Regions from separate parts of the Homo sapiens genome. Here region 2 is linked to region 1. The links are contacts of gene promoters, found by promoter capture Hi-C in blood cells and fetal thymus (Javierre and others, 2016). All regions are on one chromosome and are shown on one strand. The core of a region is centred on a gene start or on the middle of the fragment in contact, and the rest is flanking DNA. Distances in the headings are between cores, read along the strand shown.

What was found. The method cuts DNA at HindIII sites, captures the fragments that hold promoters and counts their contacts. A CHiCAGO score of 5 or more calls a contact.
Region 2: a contact is called between a fragment that was not itself captured here and the fragment with the promoter of METTL6 in region 1, in 1 of 17 cell types (M0 macrophages). The highest score is 5.2, in M0 macrophages.

The regions. Positions count from the first base shown.
Region 1 is chr3:15,425,701-15,430,398 of GRCh38, reverse strand. METTL6 (methyltransferase 6, tRNA N3-cytidine) reads left to right here and starts at 2,855. Exons shown (of 6, transcript NM_152396.4): 1 at 2,855-2,997; 2 at 3,764-4,112. The coding sequence starts at 3,888. EAF1 (ELL associated factor 1) reads right to left here and starts at 2,801. Exons shown (of 6, transcript NM_033083.7): 1 at 2,517-2,801; 2 at 392-486. The coding sequence starts at 2,619. RefSeq lists an enhancer at 2,445-2,724 and a silencer at 2,721-2,884. The HindIII fragment of the contact is 9,714 bases long and covers 1-4,698 here.
Region 2 is chr3:15,516,641-15,521,338 of GRCh38, reverse strand. All of the region lies in intron 1 of COLQ (collagen like tail subunit of asymmetric acetylcholinesterase), which reads left to right. Among named protein-coding and RNA genes, the nearest start is that of COLQ, 2.7 kb to the left of the region's middle. The HindIII fragment of the contact is 660 bases long and covers 1,633-2,292 here.

The sequences.
Region 1 (4,698 bases), core at 1,606-4,105:
AACCTCTACCTCCCAGGCTCAAGCGATCCTCCCAGCTCCGCTTCCCAAGCAGCTGCAACCACAGACATGTGCCATCACCCCCAGCTAATTTTTTGTATTTTTGGTACAGACGGGGTTTCACCATGTTGCCCAGGCTGGTCTTTAACTCCTGAACTCAAGCTATCCACCCACTTCCACCTCCCAAAATGCTAGGATTACAAGAATTATTTTTAATCAAGCACCTGCCTAGCATGAAGTCCACCCCACCCCACTCCCCAAAATTACTTTTTTCCTTAAGTTGCCACTTTAGAAATCTAAACATTTTTAAAAGTAGGAAGTTTAAATTGCAATAATATAAAAGACAAAGATTCATTGTGATCTTACATTAAAAAAAAAAATGAAATAAACTCACAGGGATATGTGGCAGTGTAATTGTGACTTCATCTCCTTTGCCAACTTGAAGCTCTCCTTCACAGGAAGTGTCTATAGATGCTGGTTTAAAATCATCTAAAGGGAAAGGAAAAAAAGCACTTACCCACCAGGTTACTTATAATAAGGGTTTCCTGGGCATCTCCATTTAAGAATTAAAATTATTACTCAGATGAATGGAAAATAAAAATAATTTAGAATTCTTAAAAAACTGTTTCGTTATGGAAAACTTCAGATACACAAAAGTAGAGAGAATCGTACAATGAGACCTGGTATACCATTATCCAGTTTCAATTATTACCAACTCAGGGACAATCTTGTTTCATCTACACCTCCACATACTTTTCCTCTGACCCCCTTTTGATTATTCTAGAGGGAAAAAAGAATTTACAGGCCATTTTATTAAACAAAGATATTCCCTTCTCCCAAGGGAGAGAGGAAAATTGTCTCATCATCCATAATAAGTTGCTTTTTTAGGGTTGTGAGGATCAAAAGTAACAGCATATGAAACAGATTCTGTGACTGTAAACTCTATATGAAATATGAAAGGCCACAGCATCATCAAAAGCTGATTTCATTCCGCATAGAAACTGTCAAAATTAGGATTTGCCATACTCAAGTTCCATAGCTGTTTTTTGTTTTTTTTTTTTTTTAATAGTGATGGGGTCTCACTATGCTGCCCAGGCTGGTCTCAAACTCCTGGGCTCAAGCTATCTGTCGACCTCGGCCTCCCAAAGTACTGGGATTATAGTGTCAGCCACCACTCTCAGCCAGTTCCACAGCTTTAACAAAGACACTTCGTAGATGTTCATAGCAGACAACTGAACTGTATCTCCGCAAGTTATCCTGCTCGTGTTTCTAAACTGCAGTTAGAATACAACATAATAGCCATCTTAATTCACATTCACACCTGCCTCAAACTGCAGGACAGGTGCACACATGAACTATATGATTTAAATTCCACATTGCCCTTCACCAAAAGAAAACATCAACTTAGTAAACTCTTCAGGAAATGATGTTCTTATCTTATTCCCATCTCTTCTCTCTGAAAGAGCTGGATCTGCTGTCAGTAGGAAGCATAGCAATGGCATGGCAAGTGACTACACAAAGATGGGATTTCATTATCTAAAACGCCCTCTTCACATGTGTTGAGTCACATCTATTAGGTCCTCTGACAAAAACAAGTCTTAACAACAGCGTTAGCACCACGGAAACCAGAAGTTCATGAATCACGGAGGGATGCTCTGTCAGCCAATTCCTAACTGCCAAACCTTCACCCAGGACATAGGGTGGAAGTGCACTCTCTCAACAGCGTCTATAATTATGTAGAAAAAGGTCCGGCATAATGACTATTTGGACATTCCTTACGCCTGCTCTCTTCTGCTTCCAAACGTAGACCAATCTTTAACCTATCCCAGGCTCACGAACTCTGATTTGACTCTTTACCCACAAGGAACTTGGTCTGGAGGAAAAGCCCGGGTGGTATAGGTGACCTCAAAAGACATCCAAGTCAAATGAAGCACAGAAAGGAGATGGAAGAAGACTCTGATGAGGCGCAGAGAGGATGCCAATTCTTTGGCTGTAGAGGGGACAAAGCACAGTATTTGGGAGTCCAGGACCAAGTCGGAGGAGAAAAGCAGGGAAGAGAATGGGTTCTAAGGCAGTGGATGAGGCTCATAACAAACAAGAAGCGTCTTTTAAATGTGGAGAACCCTGATGGGAGCATCGGAAAGGAGGGGAGGGGTTTCGAGGGAGAAGTGGACCCGGATAAGAGGGGGGAGGTTTGCCTTGGGGGAGGGAGGTTTGCCTTAGGGGCGAGGTTGGGGGCGGGGAGGGATGGAAATGGAAAGAGGCCAAAGACCTTTGGAACTAGTGTTTGAGACTGTGAGGTAGAAGAATAGTAGGGAGTGACGAAGATTTGGGAGAAATAATCTGGGTAAAAGAAGGGACAAATCGATGTCCCAAAGGATTTGGGGTTCGAGAGAAAGTAACTGACGCTGGCAGGGGGTTCCCTGGAATCTGAAGGGCCGAGGGAAGAAAGGAAGGAGTCAAGGTTGATATGTGGCGGCTGGAGCGGCCGAAGGGAACCGTGGGGAGCGCTGACTTACAACGAATAGTGTGGAAGGAGGCCCGCGGCCGCTTCTCGAAGCTCTCCCCGAGCCTCAGGCAATGTTCCTCGCGGTCCAGCAGCGGGTTTGCGGTCCCATTCATGGCCCCGCACCTGCCTCGCACCCAGATCGGCGCTCTCCCGGTGCAGCCGCGATCCGAGCTTCTGGCGCTGGCGTCTGGGAGGACTGTGCTTCCGGGCCACCGCTCTGGAAGACAAGGAGAGCCGAGCCGGCACCCACCCGGGTCCAGAAGCAAGTTCTCTCCTCTGCGTGGGGGTGAGAGAGGAATCTGAGGAGGCAAGGCCGTGGGACTTCCGGCGTCGGGTAGGAACTTCCGGGTTCCTAGCGGAAGTGGCGGGGGCGGTGCCATGGCAAAAGAACTCCCGGATAATCCGAATTCGTGGTCCTCAGAATTGGTTTAGGGTTGTTTCGCGGTTCTTCCCGTATTCTGCCTCCGAGGCCCAGTGGGGCTGGCTGTGGGGTGAGTGCGCCTGGCCCTAGCCCTGCAGGTGAATTTAGGAACTGATGACGGTGAGCCCTGAGCGTGGCTGACTAAATTAACGCGGGTCGGCTAGCCATCATGGACGCCCTCCTCAGGGTCTAGGGGCCCATGCAGCCTAGTCTATCCTGAGGGTCCTGAGATGGATCCTCGGGACCTCAGCCACGCGTCATTGGGTCTCTTTCTCCACTTTGCCCGGTGATGGCGGTGCGAGGGTCTCAGTCCCTGCAAAGTGACGCTCCCTCTGGTTCCTATGACAGCCTCTTGTGAGTGTGATCAGGAAATGAGCCCACCCAGGCTTAGCTTCATTTCCCCCGAAAAAACGGAGGTCCGACCCTTGGGAAACGATGACCTCACTTGTATCTGACAATTGACCACCCGCTTCCAGCTAAGGCCATTGTGGTTTTTAAGTCACCCCTTTCGCGGGCACCGAAAATTGAGGAATATTTTCTTCGCAAGGTTTCCCAGTCAGTTCTTGAGAGCGTCCTTTTTCGTAAACTAAATCGATTTATTGTAATAGTTGACTCATCTGGTTTGAATAAAAGTATGGTGCATGAGATAGTCTGGCCACTGAAATGAATGTAAGCCCACTGAAGGTAGGGACTGTGTGTTTGTCTTCTTTGTGACCTCTCATATAGCGGGAAGGATTTTTTTTTGTACAGTCTGCATCTCATAAACATTTGGTGAATTGAACCTGGCGTCTTGAACTGTAACCACTAACCAGAATCTAATTCTTTTCTCTGCGAAGCCCCCTGTGCTGTTTGAGGCGTGAAACTCACCTCAGGAAATGTATCTGATCCATTAGCGTGGATTCATATTATTTGGTGATGGAGAATCTTCAGCTGTGTTAAGTGTTACCGTCAGTTTCAGAGATGGCTTCTTTGCAAAGGAAAGGGCTGCAGGCAAGGATTCTCACCTCTGAAGAAGAGGAGAAACTGAAAAGAGACCAAACTTTGGTGTCTGATTTTAAACAGCAGAAATTGGAACAAGAGGCTCAGAAAAATTGGGATCTTTTTTACAAAAGAAATAGCACTAATTTCTTCAAAGACAGACACTGGACCACCAGAGAGTTTGAGGAGCTAAGATCATGTAGAGAGGTAAGCTAATATTACGCCTTATCTGAGCTGTTCTTCATTTAAAATGTGAAGAGGGTGCCATGGCTCATGCCTGTAATCCCAGTACTTGGGGAGGCCAAGGCAGGCGGATCACGAAGTCAAGAGATCGAGACCATCCTGGCCAACATGATGAAACCCCGTCTTTACTAAAAATACAAAAATTAGCTGGGTGTGGTGGTGCTCGCCTGTAGTCCCAGCTACTTGGAAGGCTGAGGCAGGAGAATCGCTTGAACCCGGGAGGCGGAGATAGCAGTGAGCCGAGATTGTGCCACTGCACTCCAGCCTGGTGACAGAACGAGACTCTGTCTCAAAAGAAAAAAAAATGTGAAGAGGTGTGCTGTATTGCATTCCTAGGGAGAGTGCGAAGTAGAGAATTTAAGAAGCCTATCAAAATGCTTTGCGTTTTAGGAGAGAAATATACTGTTTGGTCTTAACACCAAAGTTTTAGCAGTTTCTGGTTTGGTTAACATATAGGAGAGAGAACTTTAGTGGGTGTTTTCTATTTCTTTAAGCTGATCTGATAGTTGTAAACATTATATATTAAATTCAAGAGCCAGGTCTGGTGGCT
Region 2 (4,698 bases), core at 713-3,212, 92 kb before region 1:
TCCTTGTTCCAACCGGCTCCTACCTGGCTGCTCAAAGCAGAGACACTTTGAAAAATGGTTTCTGCCTCCCCTATTCTCCCCATTTGCTGCATGATTTCATCTTGGTCAGGAATTTGGGAGAGCTTAAAAGAGACAGAGGTGTGCAAGTAATAGAGAAGTGAGTCTCAGATGTTTCTATAAATACATCTCTGACCTCTTCGAAGGGGGCTTGCCTCACAGGGGCTGTTGTGGAGTAAACAAACCTCTTTCCAGACCCAGATAGCATCCATGGCCACAATAGTCCCTCGAAGGGAAAATGCAGGTGGCAGGGGCCGGTGGGGTGGGGGGTGAACAGCGGCGGGGCAGTTGCAGCCTCAGGACTAGGTTTTCCCTTTCTCCAGACCTGTCTTCCTGGGTGCGACTTCCCTTCAGCCTCAGACAAGGCAGCTGGAGGTCCTGAGAGAAGTGAGCTTTCCAGGGAGAAGTGGAGGGGGTTCCACAGTGACAGCCAGGTCTGGAGCTGAGTGTGTCTGCCGGGTATGAGGCTGGGAGATTTGGGGAAGGGGCTGTGTCTGCCAGCCTGCAACCTTTTCTGAGGTCAGCAGCCTGTTGCCCTTGTCTTGTCTGACCCAGAGCAGGGGAAGTATTCGGTTACTAGTATGGCCTATTTAAACCTTTCTGAGGAAACTCAAATGTTTCCGGAGGGCTTGAAGGAGGCAGGCAGACCCTCACAGCCCCCCTCAATTCACCTCAGTGACCCCTGACTCTCCCCAGCAAAGTTTTAGTTATGCCTCCAACATGAGTCTCATAAATACTTCAACTGAGACAGAAATTTCACTATCGCTGCCTTTGCTGGAAACACAGGGAGGGCCAGAAATGCCAGGCTCTCAGAGAGGGCACATCTCTGAATCCAGCTCCCAACTGCTGTCCATTGATAAAAACAGCTCATCAGCAAGTTGTGTAGCCAACGTTTGTGGGCCATGAGGGAGTGACTCAGAGACTGGTGTGAGGCTAATTATAAAAGTGTGAGAAACAGAAGGAGGTGGGGGCAGATTTGTGGAGAATTCAGGAGGGTGGGCAGGAAAGGTGAGTGGTGGTGTCACCGTGGGTGTGTGCCCACATGCCCCTGCAAATTCAAGTTAAGAGCATCAAGCTTCTTCTAGGAGTGAGTAGTCATTATTCATTCCCCAGTTCAAGGGAGAAGCTTGAGAGTTAATTTGGCCTAATTTGGTGGTTCTTAATCATGTTTGGGTCATGGATTCCTTTGAGAATCTGCTGAAGGTTAGGACTTAAGGAAACTCAGTTTTCTGGTTCTAGCCCTGCCTCTGATGAGCTCCCTGACTTCTGAGAGACAGTGGCCTTACACTATAAGCACCATGTGGCCAGGGCATGTGTCTCTCTTGTACTTTACTGTTTTCCCAGGGTCAGAACAGTGCCTGGCACATAGTAATCAATAAATATTTGATGAATGAATGAATAAAAGCTTCTCATCTGCAAACTGGGGTTTACCATCATTTTGTATTACTTAATTTAAATAGCACCAAAGTGGTTAAGGAGTTCAGAAAACTAGAGAGAAAAGAACCTCTGGTTTTCTTTTGAACTCTTTGCCTTGGAGAGCACCCTGGCACAACATAGATATCTCTTAGGTAAGCTTTTTGCAGACTGTACCAATCAGGGCAACAGCAGGATAAAGAAGCAACTCAGGTGGTTCAGATGAAAAGATCTGAATGAAGGGATCACTTTGAGAGGTGTGGGCGGGGTTAAGGGAACCAACAAGGAATGCTGAGGCACCTAGAGATTAGCAACTGCAATATGCCTTTACCACCCTGTGCTTGAAAAGGCAAGAGGGGCAAATAGGAAAATGGATCCCAGGCAGATTTGGAGCCTTAGAGAAGGGGCCATTAAGCAAGAGCATTGGTCATGGAAGGCCCTAAAGCAGGGAGAAAGTGAAGGAGAAGTACACCATCTTCTCTCTCCTCCCATCCAAGCACCTTTTGGCAGCGCCTCTCATTGGCCAACCCAACTTGAAGCCAGAGGGCAGAGCCTGGAGGTCAGGGACTGGAACACTGAGGGCAGAGAGCCAAGGGGAGGGTTGGGATGGAGAACAACCAGTGCGCACATCCACAGGCACTTCTGGCTGGGAATGTGGTCATTAGACATTAGGGAAAACAATGGAATAGACCTAGCGGGAATCACTAAGGTAACCAGCTCAGTATCACAAAGATATGTTTTCTCCGGTGGTCACTTGGCTTTGCCCCCCTAATTTAGTCACCATGGCTTTATGATAGCACAGTTCAGAAATAAACTTAAGCTTTAAAAAAATGGAAGCTGTTCCTTGTAATCCTTTGGAAATATTTTCCAACAGTTTGATATAAAATATTCTATATTCAGAAGCTTATAGACTCTTAATTCTTCTGAAGATAGGCTGTGTATACACAGAAAATAAGGGCAACCAGGAAAATCTTTTCATTCTATGCATTATAACTTAGTGAGTGCCTACTGTGTGCCTGGCACTCTAATGTGTGCTTCAAGGGACACGGAGACAAGTAGGATGTGGCCTCTGCTCTGAGGGATTCCATGATCACCTGCTTTTGAAACACAGGTGGCGTGTGGTAAATGCCCCGGAAAGGGGTTGTGATGGAGGAAGAGCTCTCATGGGCCTGTAAGCCAGTACTTACCTTCATAGATAATCCACTCCTTCACTGTCTTCAAGAAAGACTATTCCAGCAGTGCCATGTGCAGCACCAGCTATCTGGATCAGAGGTTCATTACCTGGCAACCTCCTCTGCTGGGTCCCAGAGGAGAACCAGGAAGGAGCAAAAAACATCAGAGGCCAGAACTGATGATAGAAATGCCATCGCTAAAGCACATAATATTTGATACACACAAAACTATTTCAGGCCTTTATTCTAAGCCTATTAACTCTTACTTTGGGCACCACTCTAATAGACATAGATAGTCCGTGACTTGAAAGCTGGTGATTATATATAGCATATTAAATTGGGGAGGGAGGAGTTGCTGCTTAAGCTAGACACAATGACGGATGATAAGAATGATTACAAGAAAAACAATAAAGAATTAGGAAATGGGCCTGAGATTTCAAAAAGAATAGTAGGCCAGGCGCGGTGGCTCACGCCTGTAATCCCAGCACTTTGGGAGGCTGAGGTGGGTGGATCACCTGAGGTCAGGAGTTCGAGACCAGCCTGACCAACATGGAGAAAACCCTGTCTCTACTAAAAATACAAATTTATCTGGATGTGGTGGTGCATGCCTGTAATCCCAGCTACTCAGGAGGCTGAGGCGGGAGAATTGCTTGAACCTGGGAGGCGGAGGTAGCAGTGAGCTGAGATCGCGCCATTGCACTCCAACCTGGGTAACAAGAGTGAAACTTCGTTTAAAAAAACAAACAAAACATAGTAGACTAGAGCTACCTCTAGAGCCTCTGCTCTGTCTGTAACCCCTGAAGGCGTCATTGACTACAGTACATTAACTGGTTTTCATTATGATGAACATGAATGGACCAGTGATGACTGGATTGTGCCTACTTTATCTTGCTTAAGAAGGTAGATAAATGCCATTTATATATTAGAATGATTTCTATTGAACATGGCAATTATTAAAAATGCCAAGATTCCCACGTTTGGTGTATTGCGTTAACCATTGGTGGGTAATAAACCACCGTGACACTTGGTAGATCAAAACAACAACCATTTATTGTTGAAGTTCATGTGTTTGTGGGTAAACTGAGGGTCAGCTAATCTAGCTTGGGTTTGGCTGGCCCTGGCTGGACTCACTTATGGGTCTGTGGATTGACTTGGCTCCAGTATCCACCCACAGTGGTAGCTCAGTAGTAGTACAATTTCCAGAATGTGGAGGCACAGACACAAAGACAATGATATTTACCGGAGGGCAGGCCTTCCACACAGTTTAATTTGTGTAATTCTCGCAGCACTCCTGAATGGGGGCAGCACCACTTCCCCTTTCAGATGAGGAAATGGCAGCTCAGAAAGGTTAAGTGACTTGCCCAAGGTCATGCAGCTGTTATGTGGGAGAGCTGGAGACTGAAATCCTGCTTCTTTAAGTCCAGGGCTTTCACCAGTATATACCAAATCTCCTTATGGTTTTGGATAAATAGTGATATTGGCCTTTAAAGTCCTGTAGGCTACCCTCCTATCCTCTGGAAACTCTCCTCTGGATTCTTTTTTGTTTGTTTTTTCGAGACAGGGTCTCGCTCTGTTGCCCAGGCTGGAGTGCAGTGGTGCGATCTCGGCTCACTGCAACCCTCCGCCTTCCAGGTTCAAGCGATTGTCATACCTCTGCCTCTTGAGTAGCTAGGAGTACAGGCACGTGCCACCAAGCCTGACAAATTTTTGTATTTTTAGTAGAGATGGGGTTTTGCCATGTTGGCCAGGCTGGTCTCGAACTCCTGACCTCAAGTGATCCGCTGGCCTTGACCTCCCAAAGTGCTGGGATTACAGCCACCACGCCTGGCCTGGATTCTTTATTTTCCATTCCCTCCTGCTTTTTCCTCAGTATATCAATGCCCAAAGCTCTAGCAAAAGATTGAATATTGCTTTATATTAAAGTGTGCATGACTTGCCAGGGTACTGATTTATCTCTGCTTTGATGGTTCTTGCATTTTAATGGAGGTTAAGGATCTAAGCTAAACAATACTCTAGTGAAATGGTGTCAACCAGGGTGTTTGGGGGTGGGGAGCCA